Linked DNA regions of Homo sapiens: all the other regions are linked to region 4. The links are contacts of gene promoters, found by promoter capture Hi-C in blood cells and fetal thymus (Javierre and others, 2016). All regions are on one chromosome and are shown on one strand. Each heading gives the region's core, a stretch centred on a gene start or on the middle of the fragment in contact. The rest is flanking DNA. Distances are from core to core; before and after follow the strand shown. Region 1 overlaps N4BP2 (NEDD4 binding protein 2). Region 2 overlaps N4BP2 (NEDD4 binding protein 2). Region 3 has its middle 34 kb from the start of RHOH. Region 4 holds the start of CHRNA9 (cholinergic receptor nicotinic alpha 9 subunit).

The links. The method cuts DNA at HindIII sites, captures the fragments that hold promoters and counts their contacts. A CHiCAGO score of 5 or more calls a contact.
Region 1: a contact is called between a fragment that was not itself captured here and the fragment with the promoter of CHRNA9 in region 4, in 4 of 17 cell types (naive CD4 T cells, total CD8 T cells, non-activated CD4 T cells and 1 more). The highest score is 5.9, in naive CD4 T cells.
Region 2: a fragment that was not itself captured here is called in contact with the fragment with the promoter of CHRNA9 in region 4 in 9 of 17 cell types (naive CD8 T cells, total CD8 T cells, total CD4 T cells and 6 more); the score reaches 10.5 in naive CD8 T cells.
Region 3: a fragment that was not itself captured here is called in contact with the fragment with the promoter of CHRNA9 in region 4 in 12 of 17 cell types (total CD8 T cells, naive CD8 T cells, activated CD4 T cells and 9 more); the score reaches 11.1 in total CD8 T cells.

The regions. Positions count from the first base shown.
Region 1 is chr4:40,106,786-40,109,485 of GRCh38, reverse strand. N4BP2 (NEDD4 binding protein 2) reads right to left here. Exons shown (of 18, transcript NM_018177.6): 5 at 2,462-2,586. Among named protein-coding and RNA genes, the nearest start is that of N4BP2, 51 kb to the right of the region's middle. The HindIII fragment of the contact is 4,124 bases long and covers 1-2,700 here.
Region 2 is chr4:40,124,161-40,126,860 of GRCh38, reverse strand. It overlaps N4BP2 (NEDD4 binding protein 2), which reads right to left. Exons shown (of 18, transcript NM_018177.6): 11 at 2,656-2,700; 12 at 531-727. Among named protein-coding and RNA genes, the nearest start is that of N4BP2, 69 kb to the right of the region's middle. The HindIII fragment of the contact is 5,124 bases long and covers 1-2,700 here.
Region 3 is chr4:40,162,112-40,164,811 of GRCh38, reverse strand. It overlaps a transcript of N4BP2 not described here. Among named protein-coding and RNA genes, the nearest start is that of RHOH, 34 kb to the left of the region's middle. The HindIII fragment of the contact is 1,496 bases long and covers 681-2,176 here.
Region 4 is chr4:40,333,944-40,336,643 of GRCh38, reverse strand. CHRNA9 (cholinergic receptor nicotinic alpha 9 subunit) reads right to left here and starts at 1,311. Exons shown (of 5, transcript NM_017581.4): 1 at 1,113-1,311; 2 at 672-817. The coding sequence starts at 1,176. The HindIII fragment of the contact is 7,151 bases long and covers 934-2,700 here.

The DNA.
Region 1 (2,700 bases), core at 176-2,675, 230 kb after region 4:
TAAGCCTCCCAAAGTGCTGGAATTACAGGCATGAGCCACCGCGCCCAGCCAATGTTAACACTTTTCACCTTCATTTAACTTTCACAACAATCCTGGGAGTTAAGTATTATTATTCCCTTTTACAAAGGGGACACTGGGCCTTGGAAAGTATAAGTAAATTGCACAAGATCATATAGCTAGTAACTGGTGAATCCAAGGGTGATCTTCATCACCAAATCATACTGCCTCCTTTGGTTTTAGTTATGTTGGCATTTTCAGATTCCTGAATTCTTAATCTTTAGTTCAAAAAAGAATATATAAAAATTTAACAATGTCTGAAGATGGCAAACCCAAGAATCACCTTTACAGTACACTTATCATAAAAGACTGAGGGCCAGGTGTGGTGGCTCATGTCTGTAATCCCAGCACTTCGGGAGGCTGAGATAGGTGGATCACAAAGTTAAGAGATCGAGACCATCCTGGCCAACATGGTGAAACCCTGTCTCTACTAAAAATACAAAAACTAGCTGGGCATGGTGGCATATGCCTGTAGTCCCAGCTACTCAGGAGGCTGAGGCAGGAGAATCGCTTAAACCCGGGAGGCAGACATTGCAGTGAGCCAAGATCACGCCACCGCACTCCAGCCTGGCAACAGAGCAGGACTCTGTCTCCAAAAAAAAAAAAAACTGAGGAAAATACAGTCCCTATATCTTAACAAGATTCTCCATAGAAAATTCAAACTATGCAAATAAACATTTAATGATAAAACTATCTTCACTGAATAGACAGTTACACTAGCAAGGAAACTAAATTTTTACCTATGATGTCCCCACAGATTCAGTTTAGAGAGTCGTTTTTATTCTCACACTATCTTCCATAAAAAGTAAACCAATTGCCAGGCGTAGTGGCTCATGCCTGTAATCCCAGCACTTTGGGAGGCCGAGGCAGGTGAATCACAAGGTCAGGTGTTCAAGACCAGCCTGGCCAACATGGTGAAATCCCGTCTCTACTAAAAATACAAAAATTAGCCAGGCATGGTGGCACGTGCCTGTAATCCCAGCTACTCAGGGGGAGGCTGAGGCAGGAGAATCGCTTGAACCTGGGAGGCAGAGGTTGCACTGAGCCGAGATCACGCCACTGCGCTCCAGCCTGGGCAACAAAGCAAGACTTCGTCTCAAAAAAAAAAGAGTAAACCAATCTAAGGAAAACCAGTGGTTAACTGGTCAAATTCCATTTCTGGTGGTTCAAATTCCATTTTAGAAAGCAGTAACCAGGCTGGGCATGGTGGCTCAAACCTGTAATCCCAGGACTTTCAGAGGCCGAGTTAGGCAGACCACTTCAGGCCAGGAGTTTGAGACAAGCCTGGCCCTGGCCAATGTGGCAAAACCCCGTCGCTACTAAAAATACAAAAATTAGCCAGGCATGGTATCACACACCTATAGTCCCAACTACTCAGGCTGGGAGGCTGAGGATGAGAATCCCTTGAACGTGGGAGGCGGAGGTTGCAGTGAGCCGAGATCACACCACTGCACTGCAGCCAGGGCAACAGAGCGAGATACTGTGTCAAAAAAAAAAAAAAAGATACATAGGAAACAACTGCAATTTCCTTACAGCTATTCTGAGACCCAAGCAGAAAATTAGATTTACTTCTCAAAAGATCCCTACTGATAACTTAAATATGCCACACAATATTCTAAGTACCTTACAAAAATTAACTCTTTGAATCCTTATAACCACCCTATGAAATAAACTCACCTCTTACTATGTAACATAAGAATTAATGTTAATGACAGTTAAAATTTTATATATACTATACAGTTATAGGCCACGCACGGTGGCTCACACCTGTAATCTCAGCACTTTGGGAGGCCAAGGCAGGCGGACCACCTAAGGTCAGGAGTTCGAGACCAGCCTGGCCAACACGGGGAAACCCCGTCTCTATAAAAAATACAAAAATTAGCCAGGTGCGGTGGCATGCACCTGTAATCCCAGCTACTCAGGAAGCTGAGGCAGAAGAATCACTTGAACCCAGGAGGCAGAGGTTGCAGTGAACCCAGATTGCACCACTGTACTACAGCCTGGGCGCAAAGTGAGACTCCATCTCGAAAAAAAAAAAATACTAAGCCAATTTAACTGGGCGCAGTGGCTCACTTCTGCAAACTCAGCACTTTGGGAGGCTAAGAGAGGCAGATTGCTTGAGCCCAGGAGTTCAAGACCAGGCTGGACAACAAAAAATACAAAAATTAGCCAGGCATGGTGGCACATCTGTGGTCCCAGCTACTTGGGAGGCTAAGGTGGGAGGATCACCTGAACCCAGAAGTCAAGGCTGCAGTGAGCCAAGATCATGCCACTGCACTCTAGCCTGTGCAACACAGCGAGACCCTGTCTCAAAAAACAAAAACAAACACACAAACAAATACTAAGTGAATTTTTTCTTTGTATTACTCATAACGTTACCCAGAATCTGATTATCTGTTCTTACCACGATTCTGGTTCCATTCATGTGCTTCTCCTAAGTACTTTACATCAAACTGGTACTGTCCATTTATATAAAAATAATCATCAGTACTAAGAATGACTCCACTTGGATTATCCTCTTGCAAAGTCCTGTGAAAGATAAATGAAATAATTTTCATTACCTTTTCTTCTAAATTTTCTCTCCTAATTTTTCCAAAGTCATAAACAAAATAAATTATTCAAGTACTATCATTTTGTGGATCA
Region 2 (2,700 bases), core at 135-2,634, 210 kb after region 4:
GTTTGAACCCGAAAGATGGAGGTTGCAGTGAGCCAAGATTACACCACTGTACTCCAGCCTGGGCAACAGAGCGAGACTCCATCTCCAAAAATAAAATAAAAATACCCAGGCATGGTAGTCCCTGTTACTCAGGAGGCTGAGGTGGGAGGATCACTTGAGCCCTGGAGGTCAAGGCTTCCATGAGCTGTGATCACGCCACTGTAGTCTAGTGTGGGCAACAGAGCCAAGACGATGTATCAAGAAAAAAAAAGGTAAAGAAAAAGAAAGATGCAGCTCAATCACCTATACAGTTAAATCTAAAACAACACAAACTTAACATGGATGGCTTATAGTTGAGTATTAACTAATTTCCCTGAAGCAAAAACCTCCAGCTTCAAATTATACTTAAAATATTTTTCAATTTTAACATTAAATTCAATCAGGTTAAATATGGATTCTAGACTAGAAAATACTTTGAAAAAATCACAAAGTAAACATACACAATAAACCAGAATCAGAGACAGTAGCTTAATATTTATATTAATTCATACCAAATTATGTTTTTCCTGTAAGGCAATTTCTTCTGACATTATTTCTCTGAGTGATACTTTTTTAGTTTGAGTATTCCAATGATCCAATAAAGGTAGCATTTCAGATGCTGTTAAAGTCTTCAGTAATTTTTTGCCTGTTCTCTGAGATGATTTTTGTTCAGGATTATCAAGCCCAGTATGTCCAACCAAGGAAGGATCTACAAAGTAGTATAAATACTGTCATACTCTCAACAATAAATGTATAAATTAAACATTATTCACTCTGTTATATTTACCTCAGAGACCAAGGAAACAGTTTTTTAATTTTCAGTTTGTAAATATAACACAACTCTGAAATTGTAAAATACATCTTCACGTCATCGCAAGTAAGAAATAGTATGTGTTAATGTAGCAATATTTTAAAAGAGTAATGATCTGTGTATAATTTTTTTTTTTTTTTTTTTTGAGACGGAGTCTTGCTCTGTCGCCCAGGCTGGAGTGCAATGGCGCAGTCTCGGCTCACTGCAACCTCCGCCTCCCAGGTTCAAGCAATTCTCCTGCCTCAGCCTCCGAAGTAGCTGGGATTACAGGCGCCCGCCACCATGCCTGGCTAGTTTTTGTATTTTTAGTAGAGACGGGGGTTTCACCATGTTGGCCAGGCTGGTCTTGAACTCCTGACCTCAGGTGATCCGCCCGCCTTGGCCTCCCAACGTGCTGGGATTACAGGCGTGAGCCACCGCACCCGGCCAGGCTGTGTATAATTTTAAACTGACTCAATGCTTCCCACTCTTTTTCATATCATATCAACCCAAAACATAGTGACATGTATACAGGACACTGGTAAATAGAGGAAGTTGTAGCCAGCTGGAAGTGAGCAACCATAACAGCTACAGTCTGCTCTGGCCACCCATTCTAAGGACCAAGAAGATCGATTACTTTGGCAAACCTGTAACTCAGTGAAGGCACACAATAAAGAGTGGGCAAATGATATTCAAAATAAGGAACTGAACATTCTAGGAAGTTCACAACAACAGAATTTAATGTGTAACATTTCAACTTCTCAGAGGAGTATCAACACATTCTGATACATTCCTCTGCTGTCCTAGAGAGTGAAGAAACAATAGACACTGGCATTTGCACACCATCCTTTGGGCACCTCTATCCCTACATCAGCTGTAGCTCTTGAGGCTATGACATGAGCACAGGTCTGGACCAAAGTGGATCCTAAGAATCTTCAAGGTGAAACTCCTTGCCTTGGTCCCAGTGTGGACTGGACAACAGAGGCATGTGGAGGAACTCAGGCACAAAAGGAGGATGCTTAATAACAGGTCTGCCACCCTGCAACAGTCACTGAAGACAACACTATCTAAGAGAAGTCATCTGGAATCAAATATTTTCAAGTTGGCAGGATGTACCAAAAAGCAGGCTGGGTTTTGTGGTCTAACAATACTGACATCAATAAAAACTTTGAATAACCAAGTAATATTTCAATGATGTTCTTGATCAAACACATGAACACTCTGTTGCTCTCAAACCAAAAGTTTTCTTTCATGCAGAGCAAAACCTCAACAGGAAATGCTTTGAGAGCATACCCTAGGTGTTCCACAGCACTCATGAAAGTTCAATATACATTATAGGGGCTTTTTCCCCCTTTAAGTTTTATTTTATTTCATATCAATAAAATATTAAATATTTTTAAAGAACTGGCTGGGCGCAGTGGCTCATGCCTGTAACCCCAGGACTTTGGGAGGCCAAGGTGGGCAGATCACCTGAGGTCAGGAGTTCAAGACCAGCCTGACCAATATGGTGAAACCCCGTCTCTACTAAAAATACAAAAATTAGCCAGGTGTGGTGGTGCGCACCTGTAGTCCCAGCTACTTGGGAGGCTGAGGCAGGAGAATTGCTTGAACCCAGGAGGCAGAGGTTGCAGTAAGGCAAAATGGCACCACTGCACTCTAGCCTGGGCGACAGAGCAAGACTCCATCTCTAAATAAAAAAATAAATAAATAAATAAATAAAACTTTTATTTGCAAATCAAAATTTGTGGGTACCGTATTTTGTGGAAGTAATTTAGAATGAGTTAAAATTCAAACACACACACCAAATTTCAACATTAAGACATTAGAAATAAAAACATGTGCTTTACCTTGCATAAACTTGCCACAAGACACCTCTTCTTGTCTTTGTCGCT
Region 3 (2,700 bases), core at 179-2,678, 170 kb after region 4:
TTGGTTTTCATAAATTCAGATGGATTAAATAAATAGGCAAGAAGCAACTTCAAACAAAACAGTGAGGTCCCGCTGCAAAGAACTGTTTCAGAAAGACCTAGGAAACTCCATTTCTCATGACTCTCTCCTTTCAGCCCCTCCCAGTGACCCTATCTATCTCGTCTCTCCAGTCTTGACAAAGCAGCAGATTAAAACAGATTAATCCTTATAATTCTTTCTTCAACATGGGGCTGTGTTGAGTCAGATCCTATCCATGTGAAGAATGGAGACCACGCAAATAAAGAAAACATTTTTATTTCACCCAGACTTCCAGCAGACTGGCTTTCAATCTTCCTCTCTACTGCACTGCTTGTCACTTTTCTAGGTAATATGTACACAAAGTGGATGATCCAGAAATTTGGTATCAATTCTGTGACCTTCTCCACTCCGACTACCATCATCTCCATGCTCAGCCACAAATCAAACTCCCTTAGGAACAAATACCCACATCCTAATATTCTGAACTCTGAAGTTCTCAAGGTTCCTTCCTACAACCTCCTTCCACTTTCCCTCCCCCTCAAACTTTCTGAATCTGTTCTTTCCTCAACTATACCTTCACTGCTCACCTCCACTATTCCAGTCTATCAGCCCCCTCTGGATTCCACTTGACTCCTTACCAGCCTGTATCTCACAGTCAAGCTTTTCAACCTTACACATACAGCATCGTGAATTTTGTCTCCTTTCCTTCCCACACTGAACCCTTCCCATACCTATCCGCCAATCACTACCTCTGCTGAAACCAACTGATGTCTCTGTTTCTCCTCTCTGATTCCTGAGAATTGCTGGAGAAAAGTCACTTAACTGATAAAAGACCAGGTGCTTAGAACATAGACATCTCAGTCTGAAACCCGGCTCTGCTATTAATAGCCGGGAAAGATTTCGCAAATTCTATAATCTCTCTGAACATGTTTCCTAGTCTGTAAAAAGGGGTATATCAAATCATTAGGATGCTTCCAGGTGTAACACAAAACCCAAACAAAGGCAGCTTATTGTCTCTCATAACAAGGCCACTAAAGGTCAGTTCCAGGGTTAGTTAATTCAGGGGCTCAATGACATCATCAAGAACAGAGGGTTTTTCTTCTCTACACTCACCATCCTTAGCACATTGGCTTGGGCCTTAGGTTTGTCTCTTCATGGTTTCAACAAGGCAACTGCAATTCCAGACATCACATACAGACACAAAGTCTTGCTGAACAAGAATGCATTTCTTCCTATGTGTTTCTCTGTATTCGTGAGGAAAACCTTTCCCAGAACCAATCTAGCAGAATTCTTGTTGGTATGATCATATATCCATCCTCCAACTAATCACTGGCAAGGGGAAATGGCATTGCCATGATTGGCTTTTCCACCAATCAAAATTCACCTGCAGGAGCTACAGAGGGGTTGATCTTCCCTGAGCCCACTGCCACCAGATGCCTGAACAAAAAGAGCTGTAATAGAAAGAATAACTGTTGGGTAAGACAACAATGTCGGCCATGTGGGCAATAATACCTACCCCAGCGGGTGGTTATGATTATACTAGGTACATTTGCAAAGTACCCAGTGGTGCCTAGTTCATAGTAAACATAATGGCTTCCAAATACATACACAAATCCTTTGACATTGTATCCTTCAAAAGGTAGAGCTAATTCTCCTGTGCTTCAAAGTTAGCTGAATTTAATGGCTTGGTTCTAACAAACAATTTGGCAGATAACTGCAAAAAACTTCCAATACTAAGTCATAAAAGGTACTGCAGTTTCTGTTTTGCTCACTTGGATTACCTGTTCTGGAGAAACCAGCCACCATGTTGTAAGGACACTCAAGCAGCCTTTGGAGAGGCCCACATGGGGTCCTCTCCCCTTGGATTTTGAGAACTTCACACTTGAACTGAAAGATACCATCAGCTTCCCTGGCTCTGTGGCCTTCAGACTTGTACTTGGCCATGCTACTGGCTTCCCTAGTTCTCCTGCTTGCAGATGGCCTGGTGTGAACTTCTCAGCCTCCAAAATTACAGGAGCCAATTCTCCTGATAAATCCCCTATCTATCTCCTATTCATTCTGGAGAACCCTAATACATACACCAATAAGCTACATTAAATAATAATGTGTATTATTTGCCATTGAGTAAAACCAGTGCTCCTGAAATATATCCTAAGCTTATCCTGGACTTGGGGTACTCCCTGGCATACCTCTAAATATCCCAGTTGACATGCAATGCTTTTGTGACTAATATGTCAAGCCATTTTATTTCTATACCTGGTTGGACAAGTATCATCGGTGTAGCAAATATGAGCATTTGATACTCATCCTCCAGCTCTACTTCTTCTTCTTTTTTGAGACAGAGTCTCACTCTGTCACCCAGGCTGGAGTGCAGTGGCACTATCTTGGCTCACTGCAACCTCTACCTCCTGGTTTCAAGCATGTGCCACCACACCTGCTAATTTTTGTATTTTTAGTAGAGACAGGGTTTCACTATGTTGGCCAGGCTGGTTTTGAACTCCTGACCTCAAGTGATCTGCCTGCCTTCGCCCCCAGAAGTGTTGGGATTACAGGCATAAGCCACCACACCCAGCCCCAGCTCTACTTCTAATGAGCCTTTCCGTAAAGTTTAAAAGAACATTTCCCAGATCTTTGATGAAGGTAAAATTCTATATATATTAGAATACAATAGTTTCTACCAAT
Region 4 (2,700 bases), core at 62-2,561:
TTAGCCGGGTGTGGTGGCGGGTGCCTGTAGTCTCAGCTACTCAGGAGGCTGAGGCAGGAGAATGGTGTGAACCCAGGAGGCAGAGCTTACAGTGAGCGGAGATCATGCCACTGCACTCCAGCCTGGGTGACAGCAAGACTCCGTCTCAAAAAAAAAATTAAGATCAAATTCACATTAAAACTCACCATTTTAATCATTTTCGAAGGGAACAATGCACCGGCTTCCAATATATTCACAACGTTGTGCAACCATCACCACTGCCTAATTCAAGATCATTTCTTCCCCCCGCAAAGAAACGCCGTAATCATTAAGAACTCACTGGCCGTTTTCCCCGTCCTCCCCACAGACCCCGGCAACCTCTATGCCGTTTTCTGTCTCTACGGATTTACCTCTTTTGGACATTTTATATAAATGGCTGCATACAGTATGTAACCCCATCTTTCTTTAGATTATCTAAGACTGTTACAGTTAATGACCAGGATTAGGTAACGTTTCTTGAAATTAATTAGTTTTGTAGAAAGCTTCCTTTTCCCGACATTCTCTTCTCCCACCAGCTTGCTTAAGGAGCTATCATTCCCTCTCAAATTCCCAGTTAAGACATTCTCTTCAGAAAGCATGGTTGTTTATCCTCTAAGAATCATTCCACAGAGTCAGCACCATGTGTTACTCACCATATCCTTAATCTGAGAGAGCGTAATCTGCAGGGTCACATTCAGGACTTTATCTGTATCTTCCACTGGACGAAGAGCATTAGAATAATCTTCAAAAAGGTCATTAAACAACTTCTGAGCATATTTTCCATCTGCCGTCTCTGCAGCTACTCAACAAGAGGGATCTGGATTAACATTCAGAGTGTTGTGTGTATTTCAAGACAAACAACACAAGACTGAGGTCTAAAATGGGGGATGGCCCAACACTGGCGAGGGACAAGCTTTGGGTGGATGGATGAGTTGTTTTTCTGGCATGCCCTACCAAGATCAGAGTCAGTAGGAAGCACAGAACACTTCCATGCGGTTGAATCATCTGTTTTGTCTTCCCTGTCCTGCCCCACCTCCCACCAAAGCAATAGCCCCAGATGAGACAAGATAGGTTACGTGTCACCAGCCTCTCACCTCTCAGTCTGGAAGCAGCAAAGTAGATCCAGCAAAAGGAGATGCAGGAATGGGACCAGTTCATCTTTTTCCTGAGCCTCTATAATAAAGTCTCAGTCAGGCAGCGTGGTCTTCCACTTCCCCCTATGAATACAAAGGATCTGGGCACAAGGAGCCCACACCGCTGCAGCCTTATGGCGGGAGAGCTCAGGCTTGCATTGCATGCAGGACCGAGATCCTGAGATCCAGGCCTGCCCTCCCTCCCCTCCGGTAATTTGAGACTGGCAGCTCCAGTGGCTGAGAAGCCGGGAACCCAGGGTGTGTTAGGTCCAACAGTGCTGTTGTGGGGGGCCATCTCAGTTGAGGGTCCCTAGCCACCCTCAGCAGAAACAACCAGACAGAAAAGGAGGTAGATGCAGGCAACAGGGGTATGCCTGACACCCCAGAGACTCCATCTAAGCAGAATGGGAGATTTCTACACCCACCATGAGCAGAGTCAGCCTGAGTCCAGGGACTAAGGGAAGCCTAAAAGACTGAGCCATGGGACGGCTGTCCAGAAAGACTCTACGTGCTTTTAGCAGCATTTGAAGAGGGAAAGAGACACGGTTCTATGATCTCCAGAATATATTGGCATTTTGGTTTTTTCTCTGCCTCAGCTTCTGATCCCTCCTGCAGCTGTCCCACTGGGCATGGATCTTGCATAGTAAATGTTTGTGAGTATATATGTGAGGGGGTGTGCTGGATGGGCGGATAATCACTCGCTTAAGAAGCAGCAACACTGTGAGTTGGATTTGGACTTGACCACCTGGGTTTGACTGCCAGCCAAACCCTGACGAGCTCTATTATTCTGTAAAAGTCACCTAACCTCTCTGAGCCTTCCAGAACTACAGACTGGGGAAAATAATATTTTCTCTCTCTAGAGCTACTGAGATAACTGTATGTGAAAGCACTTTCTAAATATCAGTAATTATCATCTTTGATCAGCTTTGCATACCCAGAATTTCTATACTCACCAAGTCACCCAGGATTTACCAGCTCGAAAAAAAAAAAGAAAAACTGGTTCAAAGGCTGACCAAATCAGCATGAGAATAATAACCAATGGTGATATTGCTAATGATGACACCCTTTGCATTTGAATGCTACTTCATATAAAGTTTCAGTCATTTCTCATATGTGATATAATTTTACTCCTATAAAAAAATGTCAATTTTCAATTGCTGCTTAGTCTGGAAACTCATGTCTGTCTCTCCTCTTGCCTGGGGAAACTGCTTTGGAAAACCATATTAAGATAATTTGGTTGCCTGGAATTGGAGCGAGGAAATTGGATAGCTCTGTTTCATCAGGTTACAGCCGCCTGATGAGTCACCCCATCCCTCTTCGGGAATGTATCCTCTGAGTGGAACAGACACTCAAGCCATCGGCAAAGTGTTTCTTAATTGCCTATCCCATTGTGTTGATTGTGAAGACATTATTTTTCTGACGCCCCTAGTCTGACTCATTCATCAAATGACACAATTCCGGGTGCCCACGCTCAGTCCTCCTTCAGCAAACCATCCGCTCCAGAATCTCAGAGGCAGAAGGTAATTTTGAAATTGAGTTTAATGCCTCA